Linked DNA regions of Homo sapiens: all the other regions are linked to region 2. The links are contacts of gene promoters, found by promoter capture Hi-C in blood cells and fetal thymus (Javierre and others, 2016). All regions are on one chromosome and are shown on one strand. The core of a region is centred on a gene start or on the middle of the fragment in contact, and the rest is flanking DNA. Distances in the headings are between cores, read along the strand shown.

The links. The method cuts DNA at HindIII sites, captures the fragments that hold promoters and counts their contacts. A CHiCAGO score of 5 or more calls a contact.
Region 1: a fragment that was not itself captured here is called in contact with the fragment with the promoter of MXD1 in region 2 in 5 of 17 cell types (total B cells, fetal thymus, naive B cells and 2 more); the score reaches 7.7 in total B cells.
Region 3: a contact is called between a fragment that was not itself captured here and the fragment with the promoter of MXD1 in region 2, in 10 of 17 cell types (naive CD8 T cells, total CD8 T cells, naive B cells and 7 more). The highest score is 14.6, in naive CD8 T cells.
Region 4: a contact is called between a fragment that was not itself captured here and the fragment with the promoter of MXD1 in region 2, in 3 of 17 cell types (non-activated CD4 T cells, naive CD8 T cells and total B cells). The highest score is 6.9, in non-activated CD4 T cells.

The regions. Positions count from the first base shown.
Region 1 is chr2:70,253,829-70,256,528 of GRCh38, forward strand. It overlaps the pseudogene RPL39P15. Among named protein-coding and RNA genes, the nearest start is that of MIR1285-2, 2.2 kb to the left of the region's middle. The HindIII fragment of the contact is 2,291 bases long and covers 268-2,558 here.
Region 2 is chr2:69,913,805-69,916,504 of GRCh38, forward strand. MXD1 (MAX dimerization protein 1) reads left to right here and starts at 1,305. Exons shown (of 6, transcript NM_002357.4): 1 at 1,305-1,599; 2 at 2,317-2,416. The coding sequence starts at 1,527. RefSeq lists enhancers at 469-518, 531-1,136, 619-728, 829-1,028 and a silencer at 1,679-1,908. The HindIII fragment of the contact is 7,248 bases long and covers 1-2,694 here.
Region 3 is chr2:70,196,570-70,199,269 of GRCh38, forward strand. No RefSeq gene overlaps it. Among named protein-coding and RNA genes, the nearest start is that of C2orf42, 6.9 kb to the left of the region's middle. The HindIII fragment of the contact is 1,775 bases long and covers 483-2,257 here.
Region 4 is chr2:70,277,326-70,280,025 of GRCh38, forward strand. PCYOX1 (prenylcysteine oxidase 1) reads left to right here. Exons shown (of 6, transcript NM_016297.4): 6 at 1-2,700. The coding sequence ends at 67. Among named protein-coding and RNA genes, the nearest start is that of SNRPG, 15 kb to the right of the region's middle. The HindIII fragment of the contact is 6,133 bases long and covers 1-2,700 here.

The DNA of each region.
Region 1 (2,700 bases), core at 163-2,662, 340 kb after region 2:
ATGTGTGCCATCTCATGTACAATTCCTTATAGACCCAGCTTGGTTCTTCTCCAATGTCTCCTTTTGGAGTTGTACCTGATTTTATTTCCAGTTTTCATCCGAATCCACTGGGGAATGGGACGATTTTGCTTTTGTTTCTTGGGCAGGAATCACTTAATCCTGAAAGTCTTGTGAGAAGACATGGTGAGGGTGGAGTCAAGAACACACCACGATGGCAGAGAAAGGAAAAGAGGCATGAGATCATTTTATACCCATCATGCAACCACAAGCTTTTCTCAACTGATAATACTAGGACATTAGTTATAGACCCATTTTTTTTTTTTTTGAGACGGAGTCTCACTCTGTCGCCCAGGTTGGAGTGCAGTGGCGTAATCTTGGCTCACTGCAGCCTCTGCCTCCTGGGTTCAAGCAATTGTCCTGTCTCAGCGTTCCTGAGTAGCTGGGATTACAGGTGTGCGCTACCACGCCTGGCTGATTTTTATATTTTTAGTAGTAGAGACAGGGTTTCACCATGTTGACCAGCCTGGTCTCAAATTCCTGACCTCAGGTGATCTGCCTGCTTCAGCCTCCCAAAGTGCTGGGATTACAGGTGTGAGCCACTGCGCCAAGCTCCAACATTCTTTTTTTGTAATTTTTTTTTTTTTTGAGATCAGCCTGTCAGGTTGGAGTGCAGTGGTGCAATCTCAGCTCACTGCAACCTTGGCCTCCCAAGTTCAAGTGATTCTCCTGCCTCAACCTCCCAAGTAGGTGGGATTACAGGCATGCATCACCACGCCCAGCTAATTTTTGTATTCTTAGTAGAGGCAGAGTTTTGCCACGTTGGCCAGGCTGGTCTTGAACTCCTGACCTCAGATATTCTGCCTGCCTTGGTCTCCCAGAGTGCTGGGATTACAGGCGTGAGCCACCGTGCCTGGCTTCCTTTTAATGCATGCATAATGTTCTATTGTATGGTATGTTGGGGAGAAAAAAAGAGTTTTCCTCTACCCTTCCGAGGTTTTGGTTGTGATAGACCCCTGTAACAAAAGACAGATTAACAAGAAGAAAACAAACAGGACCAGGCATGGTGGCTCATGCCTGTAATCCCAACACTTTGGGAGCCCAGGAGTTCCAGACCAGCCTGGGCAATATGGCAAAAAACCATCTCTACAAAAAATGTAAAAATTAGCTGGGCATGGTAGTGGATGCCTGTGGTCCCAGGTACTCTACTCTGGTGGCTGAGGTGGGTGGATCGCTTGAGCCCAGGAGCGAGAGGTTGCAGTGAGCCGTGATAGTGCCATTGCACTTCAGCCTGGGTGACAGAGCGAAGCCATCTCAAAATAAATAAAAGAAAGAAAGAAAAAAAGAAAAACAGAAATTTAAAAACATGTACGTCACGTATTCAAAAGAGAGACCAGGGAAATGAGCAAATCTCCAAGAGGTAGCTTTGAATTCAGGATTATACAGCATCTTCAAAAAAGAACAGTATATGTTTAGAGAAGTGTTAAGAGAACCGGGCACAGTGACTCACGCCTGTAATTCCAGCACTTTGGGAGGCCGAGGTGGGCGGATCACCTGAGGTCGGGAGTTCGAGACCAGCCTAACCAACACGGAGAAACCCCATCTCTACTAAAAATACAAAATTAGCTGGGTGTGGTGGCGCTTCCCTATAATCCCAGCTACTCAGGAGGCTGAGGCAGGAGAATTGCTTGAACCCGAGAGGCGGACGTTGCCGTGAGACTGCGCCATTGCACTCCAGCCTGGGCAACAAGAGCGAAACTTCGTCTCAAAAAAAAAAAAAAAAAGAAAGAAAGAAAAAAAAAGAGAAGTGTTAAGAGAAGGAAAATGATTTTGAGTCTCTAGGGGTGGCAAATTATGGGAAGGCAAATACGCGATAGAAAAAGGCTCATTAATGAAGTTTGTCATGTAGATTCCTGGCTGATAAAGGTTTGTCAAAAGACAAAATTACAACTAATTTAGTTTAAAGAGCATAATTGGCTTTTAGTTGCGATTGTAGAATTGTGCAACACCTCATTTTATAAAATCGAATGAGTGTTCCTATGAGTTGAGTGGAGGAGGTTGGCTTTCAGAAAGGGCTGAAGAAAGCAGAAACAGAAAAGTGCATTGGTTGTTTCGAGGTTACTTTCCTTGAAAAGTTTAAAGCAGAGGGTATTTCCTTATCATGTCACTTCAAACTGGTCTGTCGGGAATTTGGCTATTATTTTTCTTTCTCCTGATTTCTTAGAAAGTCAGATCGACAACTTAGTTTTGACCTTGTGATGTGGAACATGAGTGACTTGAGTGACTCCATTTTGGTTTAGTCTGTTGGGCCTAGTCTAGTGCAGGAGCTCAGTCCAAACCAATGGCTTCCTATGAATTTTATTTAACAGGCGTAAAATTGTCTTTAGTGATTAACCTTTGTCCTTCCAGGCAGTGTGGGAAGAGGGATACCTTTGCCTTTTAAAATTTATGTCCTGCTTTACTTCAGACATTACACTAAATAGGAGTGTTGAGTATAAAAATGAATTCACAATTAAAGTTGTTAAATTATTTGTATATAACTTTAAAAGGAGTTTTTTTGAAGCTTTGTAATTACATTGAAAGTATATTTGTTTCCTTGAAAACAATTTTTTGAAAAGTGAATAATAATATAATACAGCTTTCAAATTACTTTATGCTGTTACTTTATTTCTATTGTATTCACATGTGAAAGTATGTGATCAG
Region 2 (2,700 bases), core at 55-2,554:
ATTAGCCGGGCGTGGTGGTGGGCACCTGTAATCCCAGCTACTCAGAAGGTTGAGGCAGGAGAATCGCTTGAACCCGGGAGAAGGAGGTTGCAGTGAGCCGAGATCGCGCCATTGCACTCCAGCCTGGGCGACAAGAGCAAAACTCCCTTTCAAAACAAACAAACAAAAACAATAATCTTGTGAGTGTTTTCATCTAGAATTAAAAGGGAGGGGAAAACCCCAAAAGAGATTTAAGCAAAGAATCTTAGGGTTTAATGCCATTCTGTAGGTTCAGGAAGTCTCTGAGCTTTAAAAAGCCGCTCGCGTGAAAGTAATTAATTATTCCATCACTTCCCGGGGGTGGAGGGGGGTGCGGAAAAGGCGCATGAGCTCAATGCTGTATACTGCAGCCCGATTCCAGCTCTTTCTTGAGGGCAGAAAAAACGCCGAGCGGCGAGCATTTAACAACGGCCGGCTTTTCTTCTCAAGCCCCGCAGCAGCCACGTGGCGCCTGCCCTAGCTCCCGGCTCACCGGCCACTAGCCTGCACCGCTCTTCGGGAGGATTCGAGGCTGGGCCCTCGCCAGCCCGAGTTCCGCGAAGCCCAGAACCTCCAGGGCCGCGGCCACCAGACCGAGGGCTCCGGCCCCGAACCCAAGCGGGGCAGAGCGCCCAGGCGACACGAGGTGCCAGCCTTCCATTCGATGGACGCCTGGCAGGTCCCCGGAAGTTTTCCCCGGGGACAGGTCTTGGCAACAGGTCCGAGGCAAGGCCGGGTGGAGCAGAGCTCCGCAGCGGCTGGTGAATCAGCGCCGCCCAGCGCCGGACCGGCCCTCCCAGCCAATGCCAGACCCGGTGAGGAGCAGCCAGGCTGCTGACCATCAGCCACTTAGGGCTCGCCTGGCCTGGAGAAAGGTGACATCATCGTAGCTGGGAGGTTTCCGAAGGCTTCACCAATGGGAGACCGGCGAGGTGCTTGCCTTCTGCAGCTCTTGGCCAATACTAACAAAGCAAAAGGGGGCCCGGGTTGTTGGTATAGAACCAATGGGAAACAAGGAAGGAGCACGAGGCGGAGTTGCGAATCCTGTCACCAGTTGGAAAGAGGGGGTGGAGCCCGGGCCTTGTCAAGTGTGACCAACCAGCGAGAGGAGCGGACTTTGCGGGGTGGAGCCCTGAAGCCCTCTCCCAATCGCACAAGTGTAGGGGCGGGGCATTCTTTGGGGGGCCCAATGAGGAACGCGGCCGAAGCTGGCCTGTCAAGAGAAGGGGCTGGGGGCGGGGAGATGGTGAGTCGGGGATAAACACTCCGCGGCGGTGGCGGCTGCTGCTCTGCTCCGGGTTCTGTCACTGTGTCGGCGGTGCCCAGCTCACTGGCCCCCTCCCTCTCTTGTCGAGCGTGGTTGCCAGAGAGGCTCCCTCAGCCCTGCTCCGCGGGGTCCACAGCGGGCTCCACAGCGGGCTCCATAGCGGGCTCCACAGCGGTCCGGCGGCGGCAGCGAGCCCGTGGGCAGTGGGGGTTGGTCCCGTGGCTCCGGCCCCCGGTGCAGAATGGCGGCGGCGGTTCGGATGAACATCCAGATGCTGCTGGAGGCGGCCGACTATCTGGAGCGGCGGGAGAGAGGTGCACGGGGACGGGGAGGGGTCCACTCGAAACGAGGCCGGGGGTCCTGTGGGGCCGGCCTCAGGTCCGGGCGCCCAGCCGCTCCGGGGGTGGTTGGAGGCGGGGAGACCGCGAGCGCTCCCAACCCCTCTGGCTCTCCCCACGCGCGGTCCGAAGGGAAGCCGCCGCTGCCCCAAAGCAATGAATGGGGTGGAGAAGGGGCTGCCGCCCGCCGGGGTCCCGAACGCCGCCCCTTCCCCAGCCCTTCACGAGTGGGTGGCCGGGGCCCCCTCCGATAGCCTCCCTGGTTTACCTCACCCGGGCTGGTCCCGGCCGGCCCCCAGGTGGGCCCGGCGCCCCAGTCTCCTGGGCAGAGGAGCAGCGCCTCCCGGTCCCCGGCTCACGGTGCTTGCCCCGCACCTTCGCCTGAGCTGGTTCCACTTAACCCGCACCAACCTGCTGGATGTAGCCAGTGGGAAACCCAGGCTGCGTGAGCCTAGCCACTACTGTGTCTTTCTCAACAATGAGCAGCTGGAATCCTCCTTACACCTGCTCCGAATTGACGATATTCACACAATTTTTTTTTAAATCATTGTTCTCAGAATTCCACCTTACTCCATTTAATTATTTCCACAATATTCTTTTAAAGATAAATAAAGGAAAAAGGAAATACTGTAGAGAGGAGAGAGCATTAAATATTCTGGGCCCATTCATTAACTGGATCCTCCTGTTTTCTAGAAGCTGAACATGGTTATGCCTCCATGTTACCATACAATAACAAGGACAGAGATGCCTTAAAACGGAGGAACAAATCCAAAAAGAATAACAGCAGTAGCAGGTAATTTGGTAAATACTTCTTTCTGTCTTTTAGATTATATTGTAGGTGACACAAACTGCTGAATGTAAGTTTTCTGTTGTGATTATAACCCTATAAAATTACATTGTGGCCGTCATGATTCAGTAATGTACACATGGACTTAAGCCATTGCAGGAAGCTGTTTCTGTTTGGGTTGAGGGAACTGAAAAGAAAAATAGAAATGTTTTACATTTCTTTATGAACTTTATTCAAAATTTAATTTCACTTTTCTTCCCTTTTGGAACAAAAAAATCTGTGGAAGCTTC
Region 3 (2,700 bases), core at 120-2,619, 280 kb after region 2:
AAGTGATTCTCCTGCCTCAGCCTCCCAAGTAGCTGGGACTACAGGCATGTACCACCACACACAGCTAATTTTTGTATTTTTAGTAGAGACAGGGTTTCACCATGTTGGCCAGATGATCTTGATCTCTTGACCTTGTGATTCACCCACCGCAGCCTCCCAACGTGCTGGGATTACAGGTGTGAGCCACCACACCTGGCTTCAAATGATTATTTTAATCTGAGGTAATCCTGAGTGACCTCGGTGGAGGACACATTTTTTCAGAGAGGATTTTTGCATATCAAACTATATAAGGGATTCTTACTAATTGATAAAAAAAAACAGTGAAACAATCTAATGAAGAAATAGACAAAGGATATGAACAGATATCTCACAGAAATAAATACAAATGGCCAATTATCATGAAAAATGACTAACTTTACTTGTAATCAGGGAAATACAGCTAAAGAGATTATTTTACATTCATTGGATTGGCAAAAGATAAAAGCTTGATAACAACCAGCATTGGTGAAGGAATGTAAGGGAAATAAGAGCTTTCTGACATAAATGGTTGGAGCGTAAAACGGTATATGACCTTTTTTTTTCTGAGATGAAGTCTCGCTCTGTCAGCCAGGCTGGAGTGCAATGACCTAATCTTGCCTCACTACAACCTCCACCTCCCAGGTTCAAGCAATTCTCCTGACTCAGCCTCCCCAGTAGTTGGGACTACAGGTGTGCGCCACCACGCCTGGCTGATTTTTGTATTTTTAGTAGAGACAGGGTTTCACCATGTTGACCAACCACCATGTTGGTCTCGAACTCCTGACCTCGGGGGAATCCACCTGCCTTGGCCTCCCAAAGTGCTGGGATTATAGATGTGAGCCACCGCTCCCAGCTGGTATACAGCCTTTTTTTTTTTTTTTTTTTTTTTGATATACAGCATTTTAAGAGGGTAATTTGGCACTATACAATACAATTTTTACAATTCACATTTCCTTAACCCATTCAATTTCTAAGTATCCTAGAAAAACAGTATAGACATGCACAAAAACACATGAATTCTCTTTTTTTTTTTTCTTGAGACAGGGTCTTGTTTTGTTGCCCAGGCTGCAGTGCAGAGGCATGATCACAGCTCACTGCAGTCTCAACCTCCTGGACGCAAATGATCCTCCTACATCAGCCTCCTGAGCAGGTGGAACCACAGGCACATGCCACCATGCCTGGCTATTTTTTTTTAATTTTTTGTAGAGATGAGGTCTTGCTATGTTGCCCAGGCTGGTCTTGAACTCCTGGGCTCAAGTGATCTGCCCACCTCAGCCTTCCAAATTGCTGGGATTACAGGCATGAGCCACCGCACCCGGCCTGCCTCTGCCTCCTTGAACACTAATGATCCTGAGTTTTATCCACAGTCCTCATCTCACTTGGTGATCTCTACTCCAAGGGTTGAACTAACACGTAAACACAGACGATTCCCATTTCTATATCCAGCCCAGATCACCCTCCGAAATTCCATGTCATTACCTACTGGATATTTCTACCTGTGTCACCCACGTCCAATCTCACATATCGAAAGATAAGGCCAGGCGAGGTGGCTCACGCTTGTAATCCCAGCACTTTGGGAGGCCAAGGCAGGCGGATCACCTGAGGTCAGGAGTTCAAGACTAGCCTAGCCAACATGGCGAAACCCCGTCTCTACCCAAAATACAAAAATTAACTGGGTGTGGTGGCACATACCTGTAATCCCAGCCACTTGGGAGGCTGAGGCACGAGAATTGCTTGAACCCAGGAGGCGGACGGAGGCTGCAGTGAGCCGAGATCACACACTGCACTCCAGCCTGGGCAACAGAGTGAGACTCTGTCTGAAAAAAAAAAAGGTAAGACTAATTTGCTCTCATCTCCTGCTCTCTCACCATGATAGCTCCTGTCCTTACTCACTCTCACAAACATGCTTCTCTGCCTTCTCACATCCCAGTAACTAAGGATCCACCATGCATCTAACTGCTCATCAAGTCTGCAACCTGGAACACGTCTTGACTAAATACAAATTGGATCAGTGGCTCCCTGGGGTCTTCAGGATAAAAAAAGTTTAAATGACATCACATGGCTTAAAGAACTTGGCCCTGATTTGGTCCTTCAATGCCAGCTTTTTATTAACTTACTCCCAGTACTCCAGCTGGTAGTACTGTCCACACGAGGTGGAAAGCCATTTGGTCAAAACTAGATTGTTTGAAATAACAATTTAATTAACTCATTCATTAATCAATTAATTCAACATTTATTAAGCTTTATTATTTACCATGTACTGGATATTATGGCATTGAAGAAATAGTCACCAGGCCAGGAGCAGTGGCTCATGCCTGTAATCCCAGCACTTTGGGAGGCTGAGGCTGGCAGATCACTTGAGGGCAGGAGTTCGAGACCAGCGTGGCCAACATGGTGAAACCCCGTTTCTACTAAAAATACAAAAATTAGCTAGGCGTGGTGGCATGCACCTGTAATCCCTGCTACTTGGGAGGCTGAGGCAGAAGAATCACTTGAACCCTGGAGGTAGAGGTTTCAGTGAGCCGAGATTGTGCCACTGCACTCCAGCCTGGGAGACAGAGCAAGACTCTGTCTCAAAGAAAAAAAAAAAAAAAAAGGAAATAGTCATCAGTACTTTAGTTTAGTGGGGAGGACAGGTTTTAAATAAATAACTACATGAATAATTAAATAGAATTAAAAATT
Region 4 (2,700 bases), core at 161-2,660, 360 kb after region 2:
CTGGAACGGGCACACAGACATGATTGATCAGGATGGCTTATATGAGAAACTTAAAACTGAACTATGAAGTGACACACTCCTTTTTCCCCTCCTAGTTCCAAATGACTATCAGTGGCAAAAAAGAACAAAATCTGAGCAGAGATGATTTTGAACCAGATATTTTGCCATTATCATTGTTTAATAAAAGTAATCCCTGCTGGTCATAGGAAAACACACGGTTCTAATTAAGTGTGAAGGTATAGCTATTGCACTTATGCCATCTCCAAAATTTCTTAAGTATTCTTTCACTATCCATTAGGAGTTTTTCTTAAACTTGTCTGATAATAAGAATCACCTGGAGTTAGGAGGTGGTGGTTGCAGTGAGCCAATCTCACCATTGCACTTCAGCCTGAGCAACACGAGCAAAACTCCGTCTCAAAAGTAAATAAAAATAATCACCTGGAGTTTGTTAAACCATATGGATTCTCAAGCTCCTCTCTTGAAGATTCTGATTCAGTAGGTCTGGGAGTGGCGCGCTGGATTTTGATCAAAATTGTAGAGCATTTTAAGGTGAGTACCTGAGGGAGAACTTAAAGACATCTTAGTTGGGGAGTAGTCCTTTTGAATTTTACAGCTAGATATAATCTTCAGTCAGATAAAATTTATGGGAGCTGGTGTCTTATGCCTGACTCTTAGTAATTTCATACCGGTTTGAAGTACGTGTGCCCATGCCTAAAGCCTTGACTTTCAGAATGTTGTCTTTTGATTCTTCTGTCTTGATTTGATTAGGGGTGAAATTTAGAAGTCTTAGTAATGTAACTTGAAGATGTTAAACAAAAATCTCAAGTAAAATGAAAAGCAAATATGGGCTACTGAATTAAGAAACTGGCATTCTAGTATTAAATCCTCACTTCAGGAGCTTTTAAAAATACTGAGACCCCCCCATAACCAGAGATTCAGATTCAAAGACTGAGGATAGGACCTTAGCATTGTAGCTATTTAAAGTTTCTAATGTGCACCCAGGGTTGGGAATCACCAATGTGGGTGTGAAAATGCCTACAAAGGGTTTTAGTGCCTTAGAAGTCCTAAGAAGCCCAATCTGTATCAAAGCAGATCCATTTTGCAAGGATCTTTCTTTTAGAACTTTCTCAGTTCTCTTAGTAAGAACTTTAGAAGTAATCTTGATAATAAGCACAGACAGCCTAACAGCAGAGGCAACTTAAATAACTCCTGAGCAGTTGGCACTAGAACAGAATACTTGGAATGACACCAAAGTTAACCAAGTCCAGCATATGTCCAAAGAGTTAAGTGTTTCATTTACTGTAGCATTCTGGGTGAGAAATTGGTTGCTGAAATCTTAAGACAGTGGTCTCAACCTTGGCTGCACATTGGAATCACCTGTAGGGTTTTAAAGCATCCAAATGGTAATTAACAGGCAGCAAAACTTCAGAACTAGTTCTGCATCTACTGTGCAAAGATCATGATTAACTGTCAAGACACTGGTAGAACAGAACAAGCAAAAGATTAAGAGTTCAAAAGTAAATGCAACCAATTTAACATGTAGTGTTATTAAAAAATTACAAAGGCCTAGACCAGCCTGGGCAACATGGTGAAACCCCATCTCTACAAAAAATTTTTAAAAAGTTGGCCAGGCATGGTAATGCGCGCCTGTGGTCCCAGCTGCTCGGGAGGCTGAGGTGGGAGGATCACTTGAGCCTTGGAGGTCAAGGCTGCAGTGAATCATGATCATGCCACTGTACTCCAGCCTGGGCAACAGAGACCATCTTAAAAAAAAAAAATCCTTCCATTGAATAGAAACTTCAAAGTCCTTCATCAGATCATGGCATTAGCTACTTTAGCAAAATAGTGTAAACTTTGGTTCTGAGTAAAAATGACTTCTTCCCTACCACAGTTGTGAATGTTAATATGCTGATAAAACTGCCAAGATATATTTGATAGGTAGGGGATTAAACTCATGGTTTGTCAAAAGAGTGTTTTTTTCTAGTTTTATTCTTAACAGATATGTTGAGGTATTCATATTTGTTTCCTTTTGTGGTTTTAATGAAGACAATTTGTAAAGTAATACTGTTATGTATATGCTAAATGTTGGTAAATACTAATTAATTTCCATCATTTGTAGACTTGTTTTGCAATGGGATATATTTTTACTTATAATACCAATTTAGGCTGGGCGCAGTGGCTCACGCCTGTAATCCCAGCACTTTGGGAGGCCAAGGCAAACGGATCACGAGGTCAGGAGATCAAGACCATCCTGGCCAACATGGTGAAACCCCATCTCTACTGAATACACAAAAATTGGCTGGACATGGTGGCGCATGTCTGTAATCCCAGCTACTGTAATCTCAGCTACTTGGGAGGCTGAGGCAGGAGAATTGCCTCAACCGGGAGGCGGAGGTTGCAGTGAGCCAAGATCGCACCACTGCACTCCAGCCTGGCAACAGAGCGAGACTCTGTCTCAGAAAAAAAAAACAAAAACCAGTTTAGGCTGGGTATGGTGGCTCACCAGCACTTTGGGAGGCTGAGGCAGGTGGATCTCTTGAGGTCGGGAGTTTGAGACCAGCCTGGCCAACATGGTGAAACCCTGTCTTTACTAAAAATACAAAAATTAGCCAGGCATGGTGGCGTGTGCCAGTAATCCCAGCTACTTGGGAGGCTGAGGCGCGAGAATCGCTTGAACCCTGGAGATGGAGGTTGCAGTGA